Regions from separate parts of the Homo sapiens genome. Here region 2 is linked to region 1. The links are contacts of gene promoters, found by promoter capture Hi-C in blood cells and fetal thymus (Javierre and others, 2016). All regions are on one chromosome and are shown on one strand. Each heading gives the region's core, a stretch centred on a gene start or on the middle of the fragment in contact. The rest is flanking DNA. Distances are from core to core; before and after follow the strand shown. Region 1 holds the start of MRPS21 (mitochondrial ribosomal protein S21). Region 2 overlaps OTUD7B (OTU deubiquitinase 7B).

Region 1 (7,426 bases), core at 1,346-3,845:
GGAGCAGCTAGCACTACAGGAGCCCCTTCCTTACAATTCTTTGATAATTCAACTCAACAAGCGTTTGTTTCTCCAAATGTTACTTCACATTGGGGAAAGAAAATGACGCGTGAGTCATACCAGAAAGTCAAAATCCACACAACTGGTGAGAAGGGAAGGTTAAGAACTTTTTGCTTGAGAATTCAGTGGTAAAGTACTACTAGGGCTGGGCCGGATGCAGTGGCTCATGCCTGTAATCCCAGCACTTTGGGAGGCCAAGGCGGGTGGATCACGAGGTCAAGAGATTGAGACCATCTTGGCTAACGTGGTGAAACCCTCTCTACTAAAAATACAAAAATCAGCCAGGCGTGGTGGTGGGCACCTGTAGTCCCAGCTACTCAGGAGACTGAGGCAGAAGAGTCAATTGAACCCAGGAGGCGGAGGCTGCAGTGAGCCGAGACTGCACCACTGCGCTCCAGCCTGGCAACAGAGCAAGACTCCGTTTTAAAAAAAAAAAAAAAAAAGTATTACTAGGGCTCTTCTACATCTCTTAGCCTGGCATTCAAAAATTTTCAATGAAGCTATAAAGCTCCTCCACCCCAGCTAGTTTGTTTCCATTTATGTATTTTTCCTTATGCTGTATCTTTCCTGAAAACTTGTAAGCTTTCCCATCTTTCTTTTTTTCCCTTTCTTCTTAATATTTTTAGAAATGGGGTCTTGCTATGTTTACCAGATTGGTCTTGAACTCTTGGCAACAAGCAATCCTCCCCACTAGGCTTCCCAAAGTGCTAGGATTACAGGTGTGAGTCATCCCACCCAGTGAGCTTTCCCATCTTTTGCCTGCTTCTCTAGGATGCCAATCTGAATTCACCTTTTCCTTTAGCTTTGTCCCACACCAATCACTCCCTCAGCTTTCTATTTATCATACTACGTTCCCGCTTCCTAGCAACTTCACATCTTGATTTTCCATTTGGGCTCTTTTTTAAGTCTTCTAAAGAATTCAGGTTCCTCATAAAAGGAGTCATTACGCTTGGGCAACATGGCGAGACTCCCTCTGTACAGAAAATACAAAAATTAACTGCGGTGGTGGCGTGCGTCACTAGACCCAGCTAGTCAGGAGACTGAGGCAGGAGGATTGTTGAGTGACACAGCAAGACCCTGTCTCAATTTTTAAAAAGCGGGGCCGGGCGCTGTGGCTTACGCCTGTAATCCTAGCACTTTGGGAGGCAGAGGCAGGCAGATCACTTGAGGTCAGGAGATCAAGACCATCCTGGCCAACACGGTGAAACCCCATCTCTACTATAAATACAAAAATTAACCGGGCGTGGTGGCGGGAGCCTGTAGTACTGGCTGCTCAGGAGGCTGAGGCAGGAGAATGGCGTGAACCCAGGAAGCGGAGCTTGCAGTGAGCCGAGATCGTGCCGCTGCACTCCAGCCTGGGTGACAGAGCGAGACTCTGCCTCAAAAAAAAAAAAAAAAATTAAAATTAAAATTAAAAGCGGGGAGGTGCGGGGGGTGATTACTTGTTGAATACAATTCATACAGTTAGGTTTGAGGAAGAACTTTTTTTCTTTTTTTTTGAGATAGAGTCTCACTCTTGCCCAGGCTGGAGTGCAAGTGGCTCGATCTTGGCTCACTACAACCTCTGCCTCCCGGGTTCAAGCGATTCTCCTGCCTCAGCTCTCGAGTAGCTGAGATTACAGGCGTTTGCCACCACGCCCGGCTAATTTTTGTATTTTTAGTAGAGACACGGTTTCACCATGTTGGCCAGGCTGGTCTGAAACTCCTGACCGCATGTGATCCACCCGCCTCGGCCTCCCAAAGTGCTGGGATTACAGGCGTGAGCCACCGCGCCCGGCCCAGAACTTCATTTTTAAGATAATAAACTGAGGGGCTGAGACGTTTTAAGAGACTGTGAACACCTGGGCTGGCACTGTTTTGAGAACAATCAACGAAAGGGGAAGGGAGAGAATAACCACCGCACTTCCCAGAGAGTCTAGGCATGATTCTGGTCCCTTAACAGTTACCTGTTTAGGGTCCTGTATGCGCTTTCCACGTTCCCTTCCTGTACCATCACAGTCCTGGCGATGAACTTCAGATGTTTTGCCATGACCTTGGATTTAAACCTTCACTCTGTAGAGCCTAAAGGATGATGGAGAAAGGGCGAGGAAAGCAGAAAGAGAAACGCAACATAATACAAACTACACCGCGCGGCTTATTTAGGATTTGGAAATTCAACATGCTCAGGGACGCGCGAGATGGAGCACATGGAAGTCATCCTAGAAAGTAGACGTGAATCGTTGTCTCTTATTCTCACTGCCAGTCCAAATCCTCGCATAGAGAAGAAAAGAGATGGCAGCAGGGCGTTACCACAAAGACGCGTCGCCGGGCATGAGAAGGACACGAGCGACAAGGATGCGCCACAGGGTCCCAACCACCACACATAGTTCCAAAAGGGGTTGAGTTGGGAGTTGGGGAAGGACTCTTTGTTGGTCTTTGGAAAAGGGGGCGAAAGCCCGCAAACCTGCCCTCTCGCCAAGCCAGCCTTCCTTTCCCCAAACCCTGCACAACTCCTCACCTCGCGCGCTCAGTACCTAGCCCACCGGAAGGGTTCTCACTACCGGAAGCGGAAATTACGGAATCGCCAGCGCCGCGCAAAGAAACAGGCCGAGGGAGACAACGTGCGTGGAAACCATAGCAACGTCCTTTCTGGCCTCTGTTGACTGCCTCTCTTCCCCGGGCCTGGACTCTACACCTGACAAAGCAAAATACTCATTGACTTAAATTCCCCCGAAACACGTTTCTCGCCCTCTCATGGAGTCGAAGTCCTTCGGCCTCTGAGAAGGTCAGCCCAATTTCATACCCCTTAATCCTGTGAAATCCTTGATAAATATTTGAGCCATTTCTCTTTCTCGATGGAAAACAAGAGAAGTAGGCGCTTCCTGAGGATGCTTCCTGTTTTCTCTTTGGAAAGGACAGACTCTTTGAGATCTGCTCTCCGGACGAAAAATAGATTGATTCATACACGTCATCTGCCTAAGTGCTAAGGAAAAGAAATAAACATACTGTGAGTTTCCTATATCATCTTCCCACTAATTTAACTACATAAAGTGAAATCAATAAAGATATATGGGAAACACCTGCAGGGTTTAGAATAAAAAATTATGTCAGCTTCTATGCCTTTTCGTGCTAATGAGACCTACTGAAAAACCTCCTTTTAAATTTCTTCTTCGCTGTGGAGACACCCGTCCTCCTATTTGTATGCTACCTGTACATATCCATTTATGGTTATTCACGTAAGTTAACATCTAATGGCTGTAGGAAAACGTACCTCCCTTAGAGAGAGAGTGCGCGCGCACGCTCACGCACACACACACACACACAGACACAGACACAGACGTGTGCATCATCAGTTGATGCTAATAACTTACACTAACACTTAAGCCCACCTCAGAGTAAGCCAGGTCCAAAGTAACGAAATAGAACTAGATTGGGACATTATTATGCTTGTCAACAAACTTTCACTGAATGACTACTCTGTGTCAGATACTGTTGATACCACTCTAGTGCCTCCTGGACCACTAGGACCACATAAAAGATACTAAAACAAAGTAGTATATAATAAATGCAAAATAAATTATATGGGCTGGACGCGGTGGCTCACACCTGTAATCCCAGCACTTTGGGAGGCCAAGGCAGGCGGATCACTTGAGCCCAGAAGTTCGAGACCAGCCTGGGCAACAAAGCAAAACTCCGTCTTTACAAAAAATATAGAAATTAGCCGGGTGTAGTGGCATGGCCTGTTGTCCTAGCTACTTGGGAGGCTGAGGGGGAGGATCACCTGAGCCTGGAAGGTCAAGGCTGCAGCGAGCTTTGATCACACCACTGCACCCTGGCCTGGGCAATAGAGTGAGACCCTGTCTCAAAAAATTAAAAATGAATAAATAAATAAATAGGGCCAGGCGCGGTGGCGCACGCCTGTAATCCCAGCACTTTGGGAGGCTGAGGCGGGTAGATCACCTGAGGTCAGGAGTTTGAGACCAGCCTGGCCAACATGGTGAAACCCTGTCTCTACTAAAAATACAAAATTAGCCAGGCGTGGTGCCACATGCCTGTAATCCCAGCTGCTTGGGAGGCTGAGGCAGGAGAATCACATGAACCTGGGAGGCGGAGGTGGCAGTGAGCCGAGATCGCACCATTGCACTCCAGCCTGGGCAACAAGAGTGAAACTCCATTTCAAAAAATAAATAAACAAACAAATAATAAATAAAATATGCCACAGCATAATGTGGTGAAAGGCACTGGCTTCAAAGTTGGGAGATCTGGATTCTATCCCAATTCTAATACTCATCAGGCCTATGACCTTGAAGAAGTCATTTAAAACCAGGGGTCTGGAGACTACAGTTTACAGGTCAAATCCTGCTCCACCTGTTTTTGTAAATAAGGCTGTTGACCTACAGTCATGCTTATTTGACTGTGTGTTATGTATGGCTGCTTTGGGCTACGATGGCCGAATTGGGTAGTTGCAATAGAGACATAAAGCCTACAAAGCCTAAAATATTTACTATCTGGCCCTTGCCAGACTCACTCTATTTCCTCATCTCTAAAATGGGACTAATTTTGCCCTGTTCAGTCTCACGAAATTTGTCATGGGAATCAAATAGAATAAAATATGAAGATATGCCGGGCACGGTGGCTCACGCCTGTAATCCCAGCACTTTGGGAGGCTGAGGCGGGTGGATCACGAGGTCAGGAGATCGAGACCATCCTGGCTAACACAGTGAAACCCCGTCTCTACTAAAAATACAAAAGATCAGCTGGGCGTGGCGGCGCTCGCCTGTAGTCTCAGCTACTTGGGAGGCTGAGGCAAGAGAATCACTTGAACCCTGGAGGTGGAGGTTGCAGTGAGCTGAGATGGTGCCACTGCACTCCAGCCTGGGTGACAGAGCGAGACTCTGTCTCCAAAAAAAAAAAAAAAAAAAAGAGAAAAAAAATATGAAGATACTTTGAAAGAAAGGAAGGGAGACAGGAACTGATGTTAATAAGTTCTGTTAACCACTACCATTGGATCAGCTGGAGAGTAACATTTTTGAGAGCCTACTATATACTAAACCCTGTACTAGGTGGGTGTTTTTTATTTTTGTTTTTGTTTTTCTGAAACAGAGTCTCACTCTTGTTGCCCAGGCTAGAATGCAGTGGCACCATCATAGCTCACTGTAGCCTGGACCTCCTGAGCTCAGGTGATCCTTCCACCTCAGCCTCCCGAGTAGCTGGGATTACAGGGACATGCCACTACGCCTAGCTAATTTTTTGTATTTTTAGTAGAGACTAATTTTTTGTATTTTTAATAGTTTCACTATGTTGTCCAGGCTGGTCTCCCAAAGTGCTAGGATTACAAGTGTGAGCCACCCCACCAGGCCCCAAACCCTGCACTAGGTATTTTATGTACATGATTCCATTTAATGGAGTAAACGGCCAAACACTGAGTGTATAGATCATGTTTAACAGAAAGAATGATAGGATGGACTTGAGTTAGTCGTTGAAAGAGGGCAGGGTTTAGATAACAGAAGCAGGAAAGGTTTGGCAAGGTGAACAGCATGAACAAGAGCTTAGGGGCAAAAAGGTGTAGTGTTCAGGAGTCAAAACAAAACAAAACAAAAACCTGCAACAGAGAGATCATGCAGGGGAGCACAGGGAAAAATAGAGACTGTGACTAAAGATTTTGGACTTTCTTCTCAAAGCATTCGAGAGCCATTGAAGAATTTGAATAGGATATGATATGCAAAGCACTGTTCTAGGAAAATTAACTTGGTTATCAGCGAAAAGGGATTAGAAGAGAGACTACTGGTACAGTGAAGTCTAGACCAGACTGGTGGCAATGGAATGGATAGGAAGAAATGGATTTTAAGAGATATTCCAAATAAAGAATAAAAAGGATCTGGTGACCAGATGGCACCAAATTTTAAGCCTAGTTATCCAGGAAAAAACAAAACAAAACAAAAAACTATGGTACTTAGTGATACCACAGATAGCACTAACAGAAGAGGAGACTGTAAAAAGTGGTAGCTGGCTGGCACAGTGGCTCACGCCTGTAATCCCAGCAGGCGTGGGATTGGGAGGCCGAAGTGGGTGGATCATGAGGTCAGGAGTTCAAGATCAGCCTGGCCAACATGGTGAAAGCCCATCTCTACTAAAAATACAAAAAATAGCTGGATGTGGTAGTGGGTGCCTGTAATCCCAGCTACTCAGGAGGCTGAGGCAGAATCATTTGAACTTAGGAGGCGGAGGTTGCAGTGAGCCGGGATCGCACCATTGTACTCCAGCCTGGGTGACATGTGAGACTCTGTCTCAAAAAAAAAGAAAAAAAGTGGTAGCAGGACATGTTTTCAGGAAAGAATAATTTGATTGGTGATTACTGGAAAACACATCAGACTGGAAACCGAGTTCTGTCCACATATTGTGTTGTCCTAGATAAGTCTCCTAAGTTTCGTTTCTTTTTTTTTTTTTTGAGACGGAGTTTCACTCTTGTTGCCCAGGCCAGAGTGCAATGGCTTAATCTTGGATCACCGCAACCTCCGCCTCCCAGGTTCAAGGGATTCTCCTGCCTCAGCCTCCAGAGTAGCTGGGATTAAAGGCATGCACCACCATGCCCAGCTTAATTTTTTTTTTTTGTATTTTTAGTACAGATGGGGTTTCTCCATGTTGGTCAGGCTGGTCTTGAACTCCCGACCTCAGGTGGTCCACCTGCCTTGGCCTCCCAAAGTGCTGGGATTATAGGTGTGAGCCACTGCACCTGGCCCTAAGTTTCTTTATGTATCAAATGAGGAGGTTGGGTTGAACTGGATATACAAGAGGCATTTTTTTTTTTTTTGAGAGGGAGTCTTACTCTGTCACCCAGGCTGGTGTGCAGTGGCGCATCTCAGCTCACTGCAACCTCCGCCTCCCGCGTTCAAGCAATTCTGGTGCATCAGCCTCCTGAGTAGCTGGGACTACAGGTGTGCACCACCACGCCCAGCTAATTTTTGTATTTTTAATAGAGACAGGGTTTCCCTATGTTGGCCACGCTGGTCTTGAACTCCTGACCTCCAGGGATCTGCCTGCCTCTGGTGTGGGATTACAGGCGTGAGCCACAGCGCCCGGCCAAGAGGCTTATGTTGGCTCTAAAACACTGAAAGTTTCAATAATGTTTAAGTACCAGCAATATGTAAATAAAACTGTCCAACAGAAATTTAAACAGTATGCCATCCCAGGGGAAAGATTGGGACTAGAGATAAAGCTGTAGCAGTCTTCTAAGTTGAAGCAATAATTAAAGCCATGAAAGGATATAGTCAGAGAAAAGGGCCAAGGCCTGAGTCTAGGGGAACACCCACACTTTGGAGTAGGTTGAAGTGGGGCCCTTAAGAGACCTAGACATTGCTGCCAGATAGGTAAGAGGAGGATTAGGGTA
Region 2 (7,426 bases), core at 2,887-5,386, 330 kb after region 1:
CAATGGCTCACGCCTGTAATTCCAACACTGTGGGAGGCCAAGGTGGGCAGATCACTTGAGGCCAGGAGTTTGAGACCAGCCTGGCCAACACGGTGAAACCCCATCTCTACTAAAAATAAAAAAATTAGCTGGGCATGGTGGCAGATGCCTGTAATCCCAGCTACTAGGGAGGCTGAGGCAGGAGAATTGCTGAATCCGGGGGCCAGAGGTTGCAGTGAGTGAGCCGAGATCGCACCACTGTACTCCAGCCTGGGCAACAAAGCAAGACTCTGTCTACAAAAAAAAAAAAAGGTCAGGCGTGGTGGCTCACGCCTGTAGTCCCAGCACTTTGGGATGCCAAGGTGGGTGGATCACCTGAGGTTGGGAGTTCGAGACCAGCCTGGCCAACATCGTGAAACCCTGTATCTACTAAAAATACAAAAATTAGCCTGATATGGTGGTGGACACCTGTAATCCTAGCTACTCGGGAGGCTGAAGCAGGAGAATCTCTTGAACATGGGAGGCGGAAGTTGCGGTAAGCCAAGAACACACCATGGCACTCCAGCCTGGGGGACAGAGTGAAACTCTGTCTCAAAAAAACCAACCAAAAAAACCCATAAAAAACCAAATAAACAAAAAATTAAGTCAATTTACAACTTAATATATTATTTGCAGCCTGGTGCCATGGCTCACACCTATAATCCCAGCACTTTGGGAGGGTAAGGCAGGGGGGTCACTTGAGGCCAGGGGTTTGAGACCAGCCTGGCCAACATGGTGAAACCCCATCTCTACTAAAAATACAAAAATTAGCAGAGTCAAGCTGAGGTATCTTACCATTATGCTTTTTTGCCACAGGAATGTGGGGTTTCCATGATCGGGACTTGATGCTGCGGAAAGCTTTGTATGCACTGATGGAGAAGGGAGTTGAGAAGGAAGCGTTGAAAAGGCGCTGGAGGTGGCAGCAGACACAGCAGAATAAAGAGGTGGGAGAGCGTGGGTGGGAGCGCCTTGTTTCCTAAAGTTACCAAGCTGCCAAAGTCACTGGGTGCCTGCCAGTAGAAAATATTTCCAAGTGTTTAGGTCAGTGTGACTCCCCTTATGATCCTGAAAATTGGAGAAAATGCAGTTAACACCAATGGGGTAAATGCCTTCTGATGTGGTCATGAGAACTGGTGGTGGGCATGAGACCTACAGAGAGGTTATCTAACATTGTGCTTTTCCCCCAGTAGGTGCTTTATAGCTTTTAGTGGCAGTGTTTTGCAAAATGAGTTATGACAATTCCATAGGATTTTTGTATTGTTTTGTTTTTTTGCTTGTAATAAGGCTAGATCAATTTTTAAAGACTTATGTTTTCAGCCCCTATAGAAATGTGAATGGTTAAAATCTTTTAGGACATATATACCATTTGTTTTTCATATACTCAGTTTTAGTTTATTTTAAATTTTAAAAAGCATAAGGAACCAGCATTCTAATCACACACACACACAAAAAGCATACCTATTTAATTGAGTCTGAACAGTACTTCTCAGGAGTTTGTCAAATGTTGAGGCTGCTGTTATATAAGGCAGTAACAACAGATTGTTTGTACTTGCCCTCTCCAAAACGGGTTGCGCAAACTATGGCTATTTTGTAAGAAAAAAAAAAACAAAAAAAAACAAAAACAAAAAAACCTTTTATCAGAATACAGCCCTGGGCATTTCTTGGATGTTTACACGTGTAACTGCTTTCTTCCTCCAGCAGCACAGTAGTAACATGTGGCCTGCACAGCCCATACTTACTGACTACCTGGCCCTTTACAGAAAAAGTTTGCTGATTACTTCCCTTCAATAATGACATTATGCCTTTACATAAAAATAATGAGGCTCCCTATTTCCTTTTCCTGTGATTCTGTGCTATGTTTATATCTCCTGCTCTTTATGTATATCTATTTTTTTTTTGCCATGTTATGGCTGGATCTTTCTGGCATTTAGTATGGCAATATCTCTTCAGAAACTTTCCTTTTTCATCCACCTTTCTTTTTTTCTCATTTTATTGCTGTCATAACTTGACAATATAGAAGAGTTTTTTTGTTTTAGTTATTTAGAATTTTATATCCTGAAGATTTAATATGTAAGTAGAACATGCTATGTTTCTTCCTCAAAAACAAATAATCCAGTTGTTAAAAGTAGATGATATTAAGATCAGAATCCTCTCCTTGAGCAGCCAGTCTTCCCCAGAAGATTCCTGAGGGAAATAAACCCACAGGGGCAAGGCCACATAAGTACTTGACATTCTTTTTTAGCACCAAAAGCTTGGCTGGATCTCGTGGAAAGCTTTTGCCTGAGCTAGAGCTAGCCTAGAATTTAGAATCCAGAGCAAATCAGTAGTCAGTTTTGTGGTAGTCAGCTTTGTCCTCTTCACTGTTGAGTTCAGATAATACCGGAACCTTAACCACTGCAGAGGCAAGAAAAGGCCAAACCAGAACATGCCAACTATTAAGTAGAAATGACAGCAACACCCAGAAAATTAAGTGTGCCCAATTCCAGTTATTAAAGCAATTAGTTATTATTCTAAAGATGGGGTTAGATTATAATGGTATTTAGCCAGGAAACCCAGAAATACCCACGTTCTATCCTTGGCCAGCCAGCCTTTCCCTCTCAAAGTCAGCCTTTCCATCTGAAAGTCCCCAACATGCATAGAGAATAGTGGCTAGTAATGGAGCAATAGTTTTAGTCCTTTTGCTCAGCACAGTGAAAGTTCATACTGAAAATGTGGCTTTCATAATTGTCTTAGCTTAGACCATTCATAGCATTATTACCCACCTTGGGAGTGGGAATGGTAGGAGGAGGATAATGAACTGGGGAAGCTTCCTTTAGCTCCCCAGTACCAAAACCACACTAAATAAGTTTTGATTTCCTGGGCTTCCTTGTTTTATGTTGAAATTGGTGGTGAGGCTCAGTAATAGTTTCTTAAATGTTAAGGCTAGAAGTTGTACACCACCTAGTGGCTGTGTACATTAAAACAGGAAGCAGAAACCGGCCAGGAAGAGGGAGCCGGATCTGGATGTGTCTATTGGAGTGACTGCAGCACTCCATATAGAACCTGGGCATTGCTCTCTTTATTTTTAATTGAAGTAAAATTTGTGATAGCATTTTACAAATTGAAAATAGCTGTGTCATTTAAAAAATTCCCATTAAATTTGTTCCCAGTACCCCTCATGTTTCCAGTGATTTCCTTCTACTCTGTCAGTGTGCGGTTAAGCCGTATAGACTCATTTTAATACTAATGTCAGCCAAATAAAATTAATAAGTTAAACTTATTTCCCTTATCATTATATACATCCTAAAGCCAATGTATTTTAAAATTGCTTGTACCATTGCCTGCTCTCCTTTGATAAAAATTGTAGTTTCACTTAGCATATGTTTATTGATTATAGTCACAAAATAGACCTTGGGTGTATTGCATAAAACATGATCCTAGCATAGAGGAGGAGATGGACATGTAAATACATAATTGCAACAGGTTATAACATGTATGACTCTTACAATAGACGTCTCTATAGCAGTTAATGCTGGCCGGATGCGGTGGCTCATGCCTGTAATCCCAGCACTTTGGAAGGCCAAGGCAGGCGGATCACCTGTTGGTAGTTCGAGACCAGCCTGGCCAACATGGTGAAACCCCGTCTTTACTAAAAATACAAAACTAGCCAGGCATGGTGGTGTGCACGTGTAGTCCCAGCTACTCCGGAGGCTGAGGCAGGAGAATTGCTTGAACCTGGGAGGTGGAGGTTGCAGTGAGCCAAGATCATGCCACCACACTCCATCCTGGGTGACAGAGCAAGACTTTGTCTCAAACAAACAAACAAAAAAACAACAACAACTCTATAGCAGTTAGGGAGAGAGGATACAAAGGAAGGAGTGGTTGATCTGCCAAGGGAGATTTAGAAGACTATTTGGAGGAATGATACCTGAGTTCTGTCCTAAAAGTTGAGAAATTGTTCACAAGGTTGACAGAAAGTGAGCTACTCCAGGCAGAAGGAACAGCTTAGACAAAAGCTCAGTGGTATAAAACAACATGGTATATTTCAGGAACTACAGCTGATTCAGTGAGATATATCTGACTAGAGAAGTGGGTAGGGGCCAGAAAGTAGGCTTTGTATGCAGCACTTCTACTTGGGAGGCTGAGGCAGGAGAATTGCTTGAACCCGGGAGGTGGAGGTTGCAGTGAGCTGAGATCGTTCCACTGTACTCCAGCCTGGGCGACAGAGTGAGACTCTGTCTCAAAAAAAAAAAAAAAAAAAAAGAAGGTATCCAGGTGTGGGGTGGGTGAAAGAAAGAAAGGAATATTAGATAATTCCTTGGTTTTGAGCTTGGATGTTTGGGTGATAGTTGGTGCTATTCACTAAGGTAGGAAAATAGGAAGAAGAGTGGGTTTGGGAAAAAACAGGAGTTCTATTTTGACTTTACAGAGTTTGAGGTAGCCATGGGCAGGTGGCAGTCTCCAGTAGGTAGCTGGATATATGAATATAGAAATTAAGAAGTCTAGGCTGAGTGCAGTGCCTCATGCCTGTAATCCCAGCATTTTGGGTGGCTGAGACAGGCAGATCACCAGGTCAGGAGTTCGAGACCAGCCTGGCCAACATGGGGAAAGCCCGTCTCTACTAAAAATACAAAAATTAGCTGGGCCTGGTGGTGGGTGCTGTAATCCCAGCTACTCGAGAGGCTGAGGCAGGAGAAGCATTTGAACCCGGGAGGTGAAGTTTGCAGTGAGCCGAGATTGTGCCATTGCACTCCAGCCTGGGTGACTCTGTCTACAAAAAAAAAAAAAAGAAAAAAAGGAAAGAAAAGAAAAAGAAAAGAAATTAAGAAATCTGGGCTGGAGATAGATGGTATATACCATACAGATGGTAGTGGATGAGATTATGGCAGTAGAAGAGATCACCCAGAGGGAACCAAGGTGAAAATCATTGACACACCACTAGTATTTTGGGGGCAGACAGAATTTAGAGGAATAGAAAGTAATTTTATGGACGCTAATGGCAAAGAAAATTTAAAGAGGAAAATAACCCATGTGAAGGCTAAGATGGGAACCAGGGTCCACTGAATGTGGCAATTAGAAGGTCATTGTTCTTTGCCAAAATCAGGTAGGTGAAATGTTATGTGGCAGGTGGGTGAGCAGGATGGAGGGCAGAAATGGGACAGATTGCAGTAGGTCAAAAAGAATGGATGATAAAGAAGTTTAATAGTCATAGACTATTAGTTCATGGATCTTGACTGTAAAAGAGATAAGAGATTTGACTTTGTAGTACAATTTGTAAACCAAGTGCTAAGGGATTAGGGAGTAAGTAACAGTGAATAAGGTGGAATAGGTATTGCCTCTTAGAACCCAGCCTCTAATTGCCCAATGTCCCCTGCCTGTCCTTCACACAGTCAGGGCTGGTATACACAGAAGATGAATGGCAGAAGGAGTGGAATGAACTGATCAAGCTTGCCTCAAGTGAACCCCGAATGCATCTAGGTACCAATGGAGCCAACTGTGGTGGGTAAGTATGGCTAAGTAGGGGAGGAGGAAACCTGCATAGAGTCCTCACTGGGCTTCCACAGCCCAGTGTCTAGAGAGCTCTGTGCTAAGAGGATATTAGAAGGAAAGAGGGGAACTATGCTAAGGGCACAAAAGTGTGTAACAACATGATATGTTTAGGAACTACAGGTAGTTCGGTATTGAACTGGAATATAAAGTAGCCCATCTAGACTTTGGAAACTTCAGGACAAATGACCCAGTATCTTCAGTAAGTAAACTGCAAGGAAAATAAAAAGGGACCAGGAACTTGTAGGTTTAAATGGACTAAAAAGACATATCAGGCCGGGTGTGGTGTCTCACACCTGTAATCTCAGCACTTTGAAAGGCTGAGGCAGGAGGATCGTGTGAGCCCAGGAGTTCGAAACCAGCCTGGGTAACATAGTGAGACCCCCTTTCTTTTTCTTTCTTTTTTTTCTTTTTTTTTTGAGACAGAGTCTTACTTTGTTGCCCAGGCTGGAGTGCAGTGGTGTGATCTCTGCTCACTGCAACCTCTGCCTTCAGGGTTCAAGTGATTCTCTGTTTCAGCCTCCCAAGTAGCTGGGACTACAGATGCATGCCACCACGCCCAGCTAATTTTTGTATTTTTATTAGAGACGGGGTTTCACCATTTTGGCCAGGGTGATCTCAAACTCCTGGCCTCAAGTGATCCACCCACCTTGGCCTCCCAAAGTGCTGGGATTACAAGCATGAGCCACCATGCCTGGCCAGTGAGACCACATCTTAAAAAAAAAAAATTAGCCAGGCATGGTGGTGCATGCCTATAGTCCCAGCTACTTGGGAGGCTGAGGTGGGAGGATTGCCTGAGCTGGGGAGGTCGAGGCTGCAGTGAGTTGTGACAGCACCCCTGCACTCCAGCCTGGGTGACAAAGAGAGACCTCTGTCTCTAAAAGAAAAAAAAGACATCAACCAGTTGGGATGTGTGGACATCATAAGACAATTAAGGAAATGTGAACAATGTCTCTGTGTTTGATTATTGTTAAAATTATAAAATGTGATATTAATGGTATAGTGGTTGTTTAAAAAGGTAGTCCTGGCCAGGCGCAGTGGCTCACGCCTGTAATCCCAGAACTTTGGGAGGCCGAGGTGGGCGGGAATTCGAGACCAGCCTGGCCAATGTGGTGAAACCCTGTCTCTACTGAAAATACAAAAAATTAGCTGGGCGTGGTGCTAGGCGGCTGTAATCCCAGCTACTCGAGAGGCTGAGGCAGGAGAATTGCTTGAACCCAGGAAGCAGAGGTTGTAGTCAGCCGAGTTCGTGCCACTGCACTCCAGCCCTGGCGACAGAGTGAGACTCCATTTCAAAAAAAAAAAAAAAAAAAAAAAGGTAGTCCTTTATGTTTTTAGAGATAGAAACTGAAATAAAATAAAAATGGATGAAATTATATAATGTCCAGGATTTGCTTCAAAATTCTCTGGTGGTAGCCCCGTGATGGGGGAGGTAGGTAAATAGATCTGAGGTGTAGTAAAACAAGATTGACCAAGTGTTGAAGATGGCCAAATAGGAACAGCTCCAGTCTACAGCTCCCAGCATGAGTGACGCAGAAGAGGGATGATTTCTGCATTTCCAACTGAGGTACCGGGTTCATCTCAGTAGGGCTTGTTGGACAGTGGGTATAGCCCACGGAGCGTGAGCCGAAGCAGGGCGGGGCATTGCCTCACCTGGGAAGCACAAGGAGTTGGAGAATTCCCTTTCCTAGCCAAGGGAAGCCGTGACAGACGGTACCTGGAAAATCGGGACATTCCCACCCTAATACTGCCCTTTTCCAACGGTCTTAGCAAATGGCACACCAGGAGATTATATCCCGTGCCTGGCTCGGAGGGTCCCATGCCTGCGGAGGCTTGCTCACTGCTAGCACAGCAGTCTGAGATAGAACTGCAAGGAGGCAGT

What was found. The method cuts DNA at HindIII sites, captures the fragments that hold promoters and counts their contacts. A CHiCAGO score of 5 or more calls a contact.
Region 2: a contact is called between a fragment that was not itself captured here and the fragment with the promoter of MRPS21 in region 1, in 3 of 17 cell types (naive B cells, neutrophils and M1 macrophages). The highest score is 6.2, in naive B cells.

The regions. Positions count from the first base shown.
Region 1 is chr1:150,289,030-150,296,455 of GRCh38, reverse strand. It overlaps MRPS21 (mitochondrial ribosomal protein S21), which reads right to left and starts at 2,595. Exons shown (of 3, transcript NM_031901.6): 1 at 2,558-2,595; 2 at 2,007-2,121. The coding sequence starts at 2,089. It overlaps LOC105371434 (a long non-coding RNA gene), which reads left to right and starts at 2,636. Exons shown (of 2, transcript XR_922129.4): 1 at 2,636-2,824; 2 at 2,959-3,156. RefSeq lists an enhancer at 2,248-2,307. The HindIII fragment of the contact is 15,404 bases long and covers 645-7,426 here.
Region 2 is chr1:149,957,758-149,965,183 of GRCh38, reverse strand. It overlaps OTUD7B (OTU deubiquitinase 7B), which reads left to right. Exons shown (of 12, transcript NM_020205.4): 6 at 835-962; 7 at 5,388-5,500. Among named protein-coding and RNA genes, the nearest start is that of MTMR11, 25 kb to the right of the region's middle. The HindIII fragment of the contact is 2,620 bases long and covers 2,827-5,446 here.